Linked DNA regions of Homo sapiens: region 2 is linked to region 1. The links are contacts of gene promoters, found by promoter capture Hi-C in human tissues and cell types (Jung and others, 2019). All regions are on one chromosome and are shown on one strand. Each heading gives the region's core, a stretch centred on a gene start or on the middle of the fragment in contact. The rest is flanking DNA. Distances are from core to core; before and after follow the strand shown. Region 1 holds the start of MAP3K9 (mitogen-activated protein kinase kinase kinase 9). Region 2 has its middle 180 kb from the start of RGS6.

What was found. The method cuts DNA at HindIII sites, captures the fragments that hold promoters and counts their contacts. A contact is called where the count stands out against the background at its distance.
Region 2: a contact is called between a fragment that was not itself captured here and the fragment with the promoter of MAP3K9 in region 1, in 1 of the 25 tissues and cell types used here (lymphoblastoid cells).

What each region holds. Positions count from the first base shown.
Region 1 is chr14:70,806,761-70,812,171 of GRCh38, forward strand. MAP3K9 (mitogen-activated protein kinase kinase kinase 9) reads right to left here and starts at 2,753. Exons shown (of 12, transcript NM_001284230.2): 1 at 2,006-2,753. The coding sequence starts at 2,411. MAP3K9-DT (MAP3K9 divergent transcript) reads left to right here and starts at 2,024. Exons shown (of 2, transcript NR_184164.1): 1 at 2,024-2,527. RefSeq lists an enhancer at 1,315-1,374 and a silencer at 2,315-2,954. The HindIII fragment of the contact is 18,119 bases long and covers 1-5,411 here.
Region 2 is chr14:71,752,880-71,758,290 of GRCh38, forward strand. No RefSeq gene overlaps it. Among named protein-coding and RNA genes, the nearest start is that of RGS6, 180 kb to the right of the region's middle. RefSeq lists enhancers at 1,116-2,030, 5,408-5,411. The HindIII fragment of the contact is 7,023 bases long and covers 1-5,411 here.

The sequences.
Region 1 (5,411 bases), core at 1,503-4,002:
CTCACCTAGCTCTTCTGCTTTGACATTAGCTGTCCCTGAAAACAAAATCACAAAACTTCACCCACAGAATCAAAATCTGACTTATGTTTAAAATGACACTGTTTTCTAACATGCCAGGCTATTCATATTTCTTCCAATATATGACCAAGTTCATTTTCAACACTTTCAAAACACTATGCCAGGATGCTTAGCCTTAAGGCTACCAAACTAGTCCCAAAAAGATGTAGTATCTGGAAACAATTTAAAGTAATTTGCTACCTCCAGGCATTTTAAAGATCAAAATGAAGAAAAATGAAGTTTTAAACTGAATGAGAGGGAGAGGGGGAACCTAAAGATTTGAACATCGATTTGATAGTCAAAACACCAACAGAAAAAGAAGAGCAGAAAAACAAGCGAAGAGGCTATGATTTTGATATTATGTGCTAGTTTTTAAAAAACATCTAAAGATAGGCCAGACACGGTGGCTCACGCCTGTAATCCAACACTTTGGAAGGCCGAGGCGTGCGGATCACTTGAGGTCAGGAGTTCGAGACCAGTTTGGCCAATATGGTGAACCTCATCTCTACTAAAAATGCAAAAATTAGCCAGGCATGGTGGCGGGCGCCTGTAATCCCAGCTACTCAGGAGGCTGAGGCAGGAGAATTGCTTGAACCCGGGAGGCAGAGGTTGCAGTGAGCTGAGATTGCACCACTGAACTCCAACCTGGGAGACAACGAGACTGTCTCAAAAAAACAAAAAAACTCAAGATTAAAGTAACACAATTGCTGGGGTAAAAAATAACTTACAGAGCCAAAAACGTAACTGTTACAAAGGAAATCTTAATATTTAAATATTTAAAGTTGGTCCTTGCTAATGACGTTTTAAAAAATCAACTAAGATGAAAGTATACAAAATAAGGAATAAACAGTAATTAATACATATTAACAATACCTTTTTAACAGATAAGAGATTATGGAAACTCTCAAATACAAAATAGTGTAAACTGCACTAAAGAGATATTTACATGTTTTTTTCTGAAATAAACTAGTATGATTAAGGGATTGTGATGGCAATTTAACTCCCTTGAAAAAAAAAGAAGATTTCATTATAGGGTATGAAATATGGGGCTCCTGGAAAATTGACGGAAACCAGGACACTGGGAGAAAGGCCCTGGGAGGGACCCCTGAGCATGGTCCCCCTGAGATTTGACCAGTTCCAAAGATAGGCAAGGATCTAGAATGAGAAGAAAGAAGAAAATGTATTTCCCAAACAGCCTCACTGTCAAAGGACTGGGATTCAGCCACTGTACCTTGCAATCCTGATCTCCCATGGGGGAACGACATACTTTTTCCTCTCTAATCATCACTTGTCTCACCCCCACTCTCAACACACACATCCCTCTTAGCACATTAATCAGTGAGACTCCTAAAGGTACAACTTCTGAGATATAAGAAATAGGATCCAAGAAATCAACCCGACATTTTACAGGCAACTGAGCCTTGAGTTCACACATGCTTCCGGGACTTGTGAGCCAGCTCAGCCCTGCGGAGACACCCCCATCTCTTTGAAAGCAAATGCCTTTAGGAGGCGGGGACAGGCGTTAGAAGAGGTGGTGGCAAGGTCCCTGATTTGGGGACTAAGGCTAGGACACTAACCACCATCTTGCCATAAACACTTCCAGATTGGGAATGGGGGGCGGCGGGGGGGTGGGTAAGAGAAGGGACTGGGAAACTGGCAAATTCTCAGACTGGGACTTCAGGATGTGGAAATCGGGAGCCACTGCTGAGGTGGCCAACTGAAGGTGAAGAAGCCCAAGCGTCTGAAGTGCGGGCAGGGCCTGAGGCGTCTCGAGCTTATCCAGCAAGCAAAGCCCGGGCAGCCTAAGCGCGCGCCACCCACACCCAGGTCAATCGTCCTCCCCACCCCCCGCCCTCATCCCAGCCCTCGCGCAGTGCTCCCCCCTTCCCCGACCGCCCCCCAGGCCTCCGTCATTCCCCCTCCCCGCCCGGCCCCGCCTTCGCCTTACACTGAATGGGCGGGTAGCAACTGGGGTCCTCGCCGCCGGGCTGGCAGCGGCTGGAGAAGGCGCTGCGCGGGGTCACGTAGTTGCTGGGGAAGATGCCCACCCGCTGGTTCAGCTGCCCGGTCCACCAGCCCTCGTCGCCGGACACCTGCGAGTCCTTGGACAGCACCTCCACCACGTCGCCCAGCCGCAGGGTCAGCTCGTCCTCGCCCGCCGCCTCGTACTCGAACACGGCCGTCCAGTAGGGCAGCGGCGCGTCGCAGCCCAGCTCCCCGGGGCCCACCGCCGCCGCCGCCTCCTCCTCCTCCTCCTCCTCCTCCTCGGCCCCGGCCCCTGCTCCATCCTCCCCCGGCGGGGCGGCAGCGGCGGCGCTCGCTAGGCAGCCGAGAAGCGCTCTGGAGGGCTCCATGGAGCGGCCGATCCATAGGGTGCGGGGCCGCCGCCGCCCGCAGGAGCCGCCGCCGCCTATTGTTCATGCGCCTCCGCAGAGCTGGGAGGACCCCCCCCCAACGACGGCGGCCGCAGGTAGGGCCCGGGCTGGCAGGGCTGGGAGAGCCGGCTCGCCGGCGCTGTTACCGCGGTACGAGAAGAGCGCCGAGCGCGAGCTCTTCGCGCAGCCTAGGGGCGCAGCGGGCCGAGTCCCCGCCTGCCCGCTCGCCCCCCCGGGGGCGGCCTCGTCACCTCTGCCGCCGGTACCTGCTCGCGCAGCCGGTGCCCGCCGCTGCCAGCCGGCCGCCGCTCTCCTCTCCGCGCCGTGCCGTGCCCCGCCCCCCGCACCGCCAGCTCGCCGGGACCACCTGACGCGGGCCTGGCTCCGCCCCAGCCCTGCGGACCCCAGGGGGCTCCGCCCCACGCCCGCCCCGCCCCGCGCCCGCTGCCTTCCCATTGGCTGCGGCCGCCCAGTCCCCGGTTCCTCCGCCGTGGTTGGGGCAGCCTAGCTGGCCGTCTCGCAGGTCCCTCTCACCCCCTGCGCCGCCGTCGCACCGTGCCCTCCCCCATTGCGGGCTCTGTCATTCTCAAACCCAGGTCGACCCACTCTTCCCGCCCACTGGCCCGCCGCAGCTCCCTCCATTGGCTCGCGGCACCTGTCCGTTTCCTGGGAGAGTTCAGCACCTCCCGGCAGGAAGAGGCTCCGGCCTCATTGGGTGCGTGAGAAGGGAAGGGTGGATCCTAAAAGGTAATACTGAGCCTTCATTCAAACTAAAAGGCTGGAAGGGAGGCAGCTGCCTTTGTTTGCCATGGATGGGTAGGGGCTGCACTGAGCAGCACCGGTGTTCTTCATCCGGCTGCACCCCCAACAGAGCTCTTTCTTCCCCAGATCCCTTTTACAGTTGGATTCTCCCTCTTGGATCTGGCTCTGCCTTAGTCCGACCTAGAGGGATCAGCTTCGCCCACGCCCACTCTCACCCGGAACCTTTCATCTCTTATTGAAGCCTTTTAGGCCCATTGGGATGTTCATTAGAACTCTGAAAACTACAGTTCTCCCCTTTATGAGGACTGCACCACAGCTCGCCCTCTCCTGGGTTCCGGTAAGAAGAGATTCCAATACCACTCTTTTTTCAGAATTCAGAAAGGCAAGAGACCACCTTACTGAGCTTCAAACTGGGGCTGGGAACGCTGCCATGAATTGGGCTTGGTCTGTCTGAAGGGAGCCACCTTTTCGACAATCCTTAGACTTCTTTTGCCTGTTGGAATTACACCTTGGATCGTGGCGAAGTCTATAGAGGTCAGATTAAGAAGAACCAAAGCAGAATAAACGTAGAACCCGATGCTGAGTTCACGAGTGAGGACGACCTCTTCCTATATGCTTTGCTATACCCTGCGTTTTGAACATTAAGGACGAGATAGGAGGCCCATAATGTTTCTTCTTGCTTTAATCCTGTCGTGGCAACGTTGACTTCCAGTAAGAAAGGTTCTCTGATCTTTTTTTCTCTTTTCTTTTCTTTTCTTTTCTTTTCCTTTCTTTTCTTTTCTTTTCTTCCAGGGTCTCAGTTTGTTGTCCAGGCCAGAGTGCAGTGGCGCAATCTCGGCTCACTGCAGCCTCAACATCCTAGGCTCAAGCCATCCTCCCACCTCACCCTCCCGAGTAGCTGGAAGTACAGGCTCGTCTTGAACTCTGGGCTGAAGTCATCCACCTGCCTCGGCCTCCCAAAGTGCTAGGATTACAGGCCTTAGCCACCTCACCTAGTCCTCTGAAATTTCTAAATAAGCCAGTGCTGAAGGATCTAGCCCAACTTCTACCAAACTTTGTTACCTTTTCCCCTTCAGTGGTAGGAATAGACATGATTTATTTAGCAAGGGTGAGTGCTTTTGTTGAATTTTAGTTTGGGGTTTATTATTACACAAACTAAAGACAGCGGGGCAATTTGGAAAGATAACTAGGCAGCTGCATGACTTCAGGCAGGTGTCCTAACACTGTACTCTTAAAGTGAGGGGAGTGAACTGGAAGATATCCTGTGTCCTCATAGTTTGAACATTCTGTGGTTCGCTCATCAATATGACTACACTGTATAGTCATAGCACACATTTGAGGTCTTGAAGAAGAGAGATGAGGCTTGTTCTAAAAAGCATCCAGAGTAGGTCTTGAAAAAGGATTTCTGTTTAAGTAAAGACCTAAAACAATGCTCAGATTCCTATTATACATAGGATCCATGAACTGGAAAAGATATGGATGAGTCTGAGTAAATTATCTAGGTTTTGTTTTAGACAAAACCATTCCACTGTCAAGCAGCAGAGAGCAAGGGAGTGGGGATGGAGGTATATTGTGTTTTTTTAAAGGCCATAAGAAAATAATTGTCTTGATAAAATTTTAACTTAGGACTGGGTATGGTGGCTCGTGCCTGAAATCTCAGCAGTTTGGGAGGCTGAGGCAGGAGGATCACTTGAGCCCAGGAAGGAGACCAGCCTGAGCAACATGGCGAGACCCCTATCTCTACAAAAAATGTTAAAATTTGCCAGGCATGGTGGTGCAAGCCTGTAGTCCCAGCTGTTTGAGAGGCTGAGGCAGGAAGATTGCTTGAACCTAGGAGGTCAAGGCTGTAGTGAACAGTGTTTGCTATACCACATTCCAATCTGGTGACAAAGCAAGACCCTGTCTCAAAAAAAAGAATTTTTTTTAACTTGAGGGAAAAAAAGTTTTACAAACTGTAGACACACAGCAAAACAGAAACAGGAAAAAAAGTACTAAAAAGAGAAAAATGTCAGTAGTGGGTCTCTAAGTAGTCGGATTATGAGTAATTGGGTAAGTTTATTGTCATTTTGCTTCTCCATAATTTCGTATGTTCTACTATTTAGTTTTGTGGATTCCTTCCCACTCCCTGGGAAGAGGGGAAGAGAGGAGAAAAATCATTGATTCTTCTCAATAGGAAAACTAATTCCCTGTGCAACTTAAACCTTTAATACCATAGCA
Region 2 (5,411 bases), core at 1,097-3,596, 950 kb after region 1:
GGGCCGAGGGGAAGAGGCGACATGCAAGTTCCCACGGAGAGGAAGAATTGTTAATGGCAAAAGAATCCCAATGGAAGGTAAATTCCCTCTGATATTACACCGTGAGTCTCTGAGAAGCAACACCAGGCTTTAATAGACAAACGCGGTATTTCCTCCTGATTATTTAATTGGCACGGGAGAGCCACGCAGGTTACGAATTTGTAAGAAAACCCCAGCGGGCCCTGTTTCTGATCCCTTGGGAGGCATTCATTTAAGAAAACTTGTATTTTCTGTGTGCCCCAACTTGCACGGGGGGCGCCAACAAGCTCTGGGAACAGATGGGATTTCAGAAGCCGGGCCTCAGCGCCAACCGCGGGCTGCTGGCTCCCTCTGCTGTCCGAGTCCTCACTTGCGTTCAAGTGAAAGAGCGCGTTTCCCTCCTGATTCTGTGCCAGGAGAAATCCTGAAGGCAAGAAGACTGGGCTCAGAGCCAGGGGCCCTCCCGGGATTTGATAGCTCCTATTTTGATTTGAGCAGGACCTGCAGCCTTGTCAGTGTCTGAGCTCATGGGTAAGGTTGGGAGTAACCATTCACTGGCCAAGTGGTACCCCCCACCCCTGGGGAGGAGGAGAACAATTTCTTTCAAGGACTTTTCTGGGTACCCGGCGTGGGGAGTAAAGAGGGAGTCTCTGGAAGCAAAAGGAATCCTGAGAGGCCTGGGCAAATGACACTGGCTTTGCTTGAACCTGGAAGGCCAGATGGAGGAAAAAGAACTTCTGTTGCTGGGCGCGGTGCCTCATGCCTGTAATCCCAGCACTTTGGAGGCCGAGGCGGGTGAATCACTTGAGGTCAGGAGTTCAAGACCAGCCTGGCCAACATGGCGAAACTCTCTCTCTACTAAAATACAAAAATTAGCCTGGCGTGGTGGTGGGCGCCTGTAATCCTAGCTACCCGGGAGGTTGAGGCAGGAGAATTGTTTGAACCCAGAAGGTGGAGGTTGCAGTGAGCCAAGATTGCGCCACTGCACTCTAGCCTGGATGACAAAGTGAGACTCCGTCTCAAAAAAAAAAAAAAAAAAAACTATATATATATATATATATATATATATATATATATATATATATATATGTATATTCTGTTGATGGTTCGCATTGTTTTCTGCCCAGAATCCCCACTGTCCTCTCCTCAGGCTGATGGCAAAACTTCTCCCACCCAGATGACCTCCCTCCACCAACACCTGAGAGGCCCTCAGGCGATCTGATGCGAGGCCAGGCCGCTGGGGGCCTCCGGCAGGGACAGTCCGCAGAAGGAGGAAGGCAGATGGCAGAAGCGGCAGTGCTGTCCGGTAGGGAAGGCCCCGACGTCCGCCCTTCCCCAGACCGTGGGCTCCCCTCGCTTCCAGGGGTGGAGGAGAGAAGAGCTGGAGAAACGTGCCACGACTCAAACAAATTTACTTCCGTGGTGGATTCTGATTTTTTTGAACAAAATGAGGTGAGAAATGTCACATTTCTTTCTTCCTGCTTCAAGTCAAATCTAATCTGGCGAGGCTGGAATACAATTCTTTTCATGACAGAGGCTCTCTTCTTCCCTCTCGGGGTCCTATCGGGGTCCTATCAAGGTCCCGGGGTGCGGGCAGGAGAGGCCTCTGGTTTCTGGTTGCCACTGGCTGGTTTACAGACCCCTCGTCCTCACCCCCCTGGTCCTCAATGCCCTCCTGTTGAGCCAGGGCGTGGAGGTCACTGCACAGGCTGGGCCCGCCTCCCCTGCTGAGTTCAAGCGGTTATTCCCCTGAGGCCCTGCCGCATCGCTGGGACTGCTCAGAAGCTGGAGACACCAGTCACCTTTCTGAGCGTGGGAAGCTCTCACATTCCATTCTAGTCTTCCTGCCTCCTGAGCCCAGCCCTAGGCAGGCTCATCCCAGAGAAATGGGCCCTCACAGTGCCACCCTTAAACCTGGACAAGAGGGGCACCGTGTCCCTCTTATGGGACCTGCATATCCCCAGGGGGCACAATGTGTGAAAGAATGCCTAGCGCTTCTGTCACTGAGATGTGGCCCCTAGAGCTGGCACAGGGTCACCTGTAACCCTAAACAGATGCTGTCCTCAGGAACACTGTTCAGGCCTCAGAGAAATTGCCTTTTCGTCCCCACCCCCCTTTTTTGAGAGAAAGGGTCTCACTCTGTTACCCCGGCTGGAGTGCAGTGGCACAATCACGATTCCCTGCAGCCTCGACTTCCTGGGCTCAATCGATCCTCCTGCCTCAGCCCCACAAGTAGCTGGGACTACAGGCGCGTGCTACCACACCCGGCTACTTTTTGTATTTTTAGTAGAAATGGGGTTTCATCATGTTGGCCAAGCTGGTATTGAACTCCTGGTCTTAAGAGATCCGACTGCCTTGGCCTCCCAAAGTGCCGGGATTACAGGCATGGGCCACAAAGCCTGGCCTGAAATTGCCTTTCTTATCTTTCACCCTGTGTCTTCCAAACAGAAGGTGGCTGTGACAGAGTGGCTTGAAAGTTTAGAGGCTCCCAGAGCGGCTTGAAAGTTTAGAGGCTCTTCTGCTCAGAAACGTGGAAAGGATTTAAATATTAGAAGTGCCTAGGGCGGAGGGAAGACAGATTAATTCACTTGTCAAATACTTTCTTCCAGCATCAAAGCTCAACAAAGTGTTGCTTCTCAATAGTACTGAGTCCTTTCTCTTGCTTCTCTTTGTGTTCTAATTCATGGTTTCAGTTCTTTGATATTCACAACAGGTACGCATGGTGGCTGAAGGGTGCTTTGTGATATTAAACAATACGTATTCCTCTTAAATGTGTGTATGTAAAGGCTAGAGGTAACATGTTTGAAGCGAAATGTCGATTCTTTATATTGTTAACTCTATAGAAAATGACCAGTAGAATTTAAATAGTGCTATTTTTATAAAAATGTTTAAGATTTAATCTAAATTCAAAATATCAAATAAAAATTTCAGCTTTTAAAAAAGCTTGATTTACTTTGTTGTTTAAATTTTGTCTTTTATTTTCATTAAAAAATCTTTTGATTTTTTTTATTTTAAATAATAGAGGCAGGGTCTCACCATGTTGTCTAGGCTGGTCTTGAACTCCTGGACTCAAGTGATCCTCCCACCTTGGCCTCCCAAAGTGCTGGGAGTACAGATATGAGCCACGTTGCCAGGTCTGTCTTTTAATTTAAAATGTGTGGCTGGGCACAGTGACTCACACCTATAATCCCAGCACTTTGGGAGGCCCAAGTGGGTGGATCATTTGAGATCAGGAGTTCGAGACCAGCCTGGCCAACATGGTGAAACCTCATGTCTACTAAAAATACAAAAATTAGCTGGGTATGGTGGCGCATGCCTGTAATCTCAGCTCCTTTGAAGACTGAGTTGGGAGAATCGCTTTAACCCGGGAGGTGGAGGTTGCAGTGAGCCAAGATCACGCCACTGTACTCCAGCCTGGGTGAGAGAGCAAGACTCCATCTAAAAAAAAATAAAATAAAATGTGTGACTACTTGAGAGAAAAAATTTTTTGAAAACATAATTTTAATATTTTAATTTTTACATTTATGGCAATTCATGTTTTTGATTAGTACATTTTAAAATTGTATTCATTCAGAATACAGTTGCATTGAATTTTTTTAGGTCCTGGATAATATGTGAATAAGTCAAAATAATAAAAATAGAAAATATGGCAGTGGAGCTCTGAAAATAAAAAAGATTGAAAAGAGAAAAGAAAGAAAATCTTCAGAGAAATGGACTGCATGCTTTTTTTTTTTTTTTTTTTTTTTTTTTTAGGCGGAGTCTCGCTTTGTCACCCAGGCTGGAGTGCAGTGGCGCGATCTCAGCTCACTGCAACCTTCACTTCCCAGGTTCAAGAGATTCTCCTGCCTTAGCCTCCCAAGTAGCTGGGATTACAGGTGCCCGCCACCACGCCCAGCTATTTTTTTTTTTTTGTATTTTTAGTAGAGACCGGGTTTCACCATGTTAGCCAGGATGATCTTGAACTCCTTACCTTGTGATCCGCACACCTCAGCCTCCCAAAGTGCTGGGATTACAGGCGTGAACCACTGCGCCCAGCTGACTGCATACATTTTTAACAAGTGGAAACACTAATAAAAGTGAGCAGGCTTGCATATCAAAAAAGCACTCACACCATTACTAAACTGACAAAGGAAGACTTGATAAACAGCCAAGGTCAAAGGTTTCAACAAAGACAAGGAAATAGGTGTGAAGGCCTGAAATAATATTATGTGTTCAATGTTTAGCTAAGTAAGTGATGTTTTTGATGATAACCACAGATTATTTACAGAATATTTACAGAAAACAAGGAATAATCTTAAAACTTACTAGAAATAATTTTGAAATTTGATGCGAAAATGGCTGAAACAGGCTGAAAATTAAAGAAATAGTCCCTTTCCAGAATGGAGAATTCAGAACAAGATTGTTATGAGTAATACAGTGAGAAAAGAAATCATGCATATAATATATCCAAATCAACTAGATCATTCTAGAGATAAAAGACACATTGAATCACTAACATGTATTATGTATACATCACTGAACTACCAGAAGAAAACAAGGGCATTGAAAATAGTGAAGGTAGTTAATTGGTTTTACAAATATTGTAAAAAATATTTTTAAGTGAAGAACTAAAAAACATCTCAACTTTGGGTGTTGATTTAAAGCAGAGGTGTTTATATAGAGGGCTAAATAGTAAGCATTTTGGTCTTCACAAGCTGGACTGAGCCTTCAGTCTTTCTGGCTATTTCAGGCATAAAGAAGAGGTCCCAGGATAATACCAGGGTCAGCCTATTCCAGACAGAAAACTTCAGGAAATGCTGAAAAGATCACAGTATCCTTAGCCCAGGATGCTGGGGGGGTTCCTGTTCACAACGGTGCTATTCTAAGGGACTTCTGCCAACTTAGAGACCGAATCTAAATTTCTCAACATCGTGTTTACTGCCTGCCACTAAAAGAACAAATTAGACATGCCTGCGGCACATGACATTTTATAATCTCTTATTGGTGTTGCATATTTTCTTTGTGAATATTTTAATGTTTTTATTATTTAATTGAACTTCCATATCTTTTAAAAGATACAGGCTATCTGACCAACCAAGTCGATGCTTTACATTGCAAATTTAGTATAGAATAATTTTTGGTTCTTTAATTTTTTTTTTAGGTTTCTTTCTGTGGTCCAACCTACCACCCTCATATTTCCAGCAGAAGGAACATGAAATGAAAAAGGAAAAAAGCCCTTACAATATCATACGAGTTTCTCTACCAGCACATCATGCTGGTGTCCTAAAGAAGCCAGACAGCAGAGTTAACGGGTACAAGTTTAAACGTTGTCATCATATTTTATTCTGTGTTCAAAACCACTTTCGTGATTTCCCTAATAACACATGCAAAGTCTCCTTTGAAGTTATGGAAGA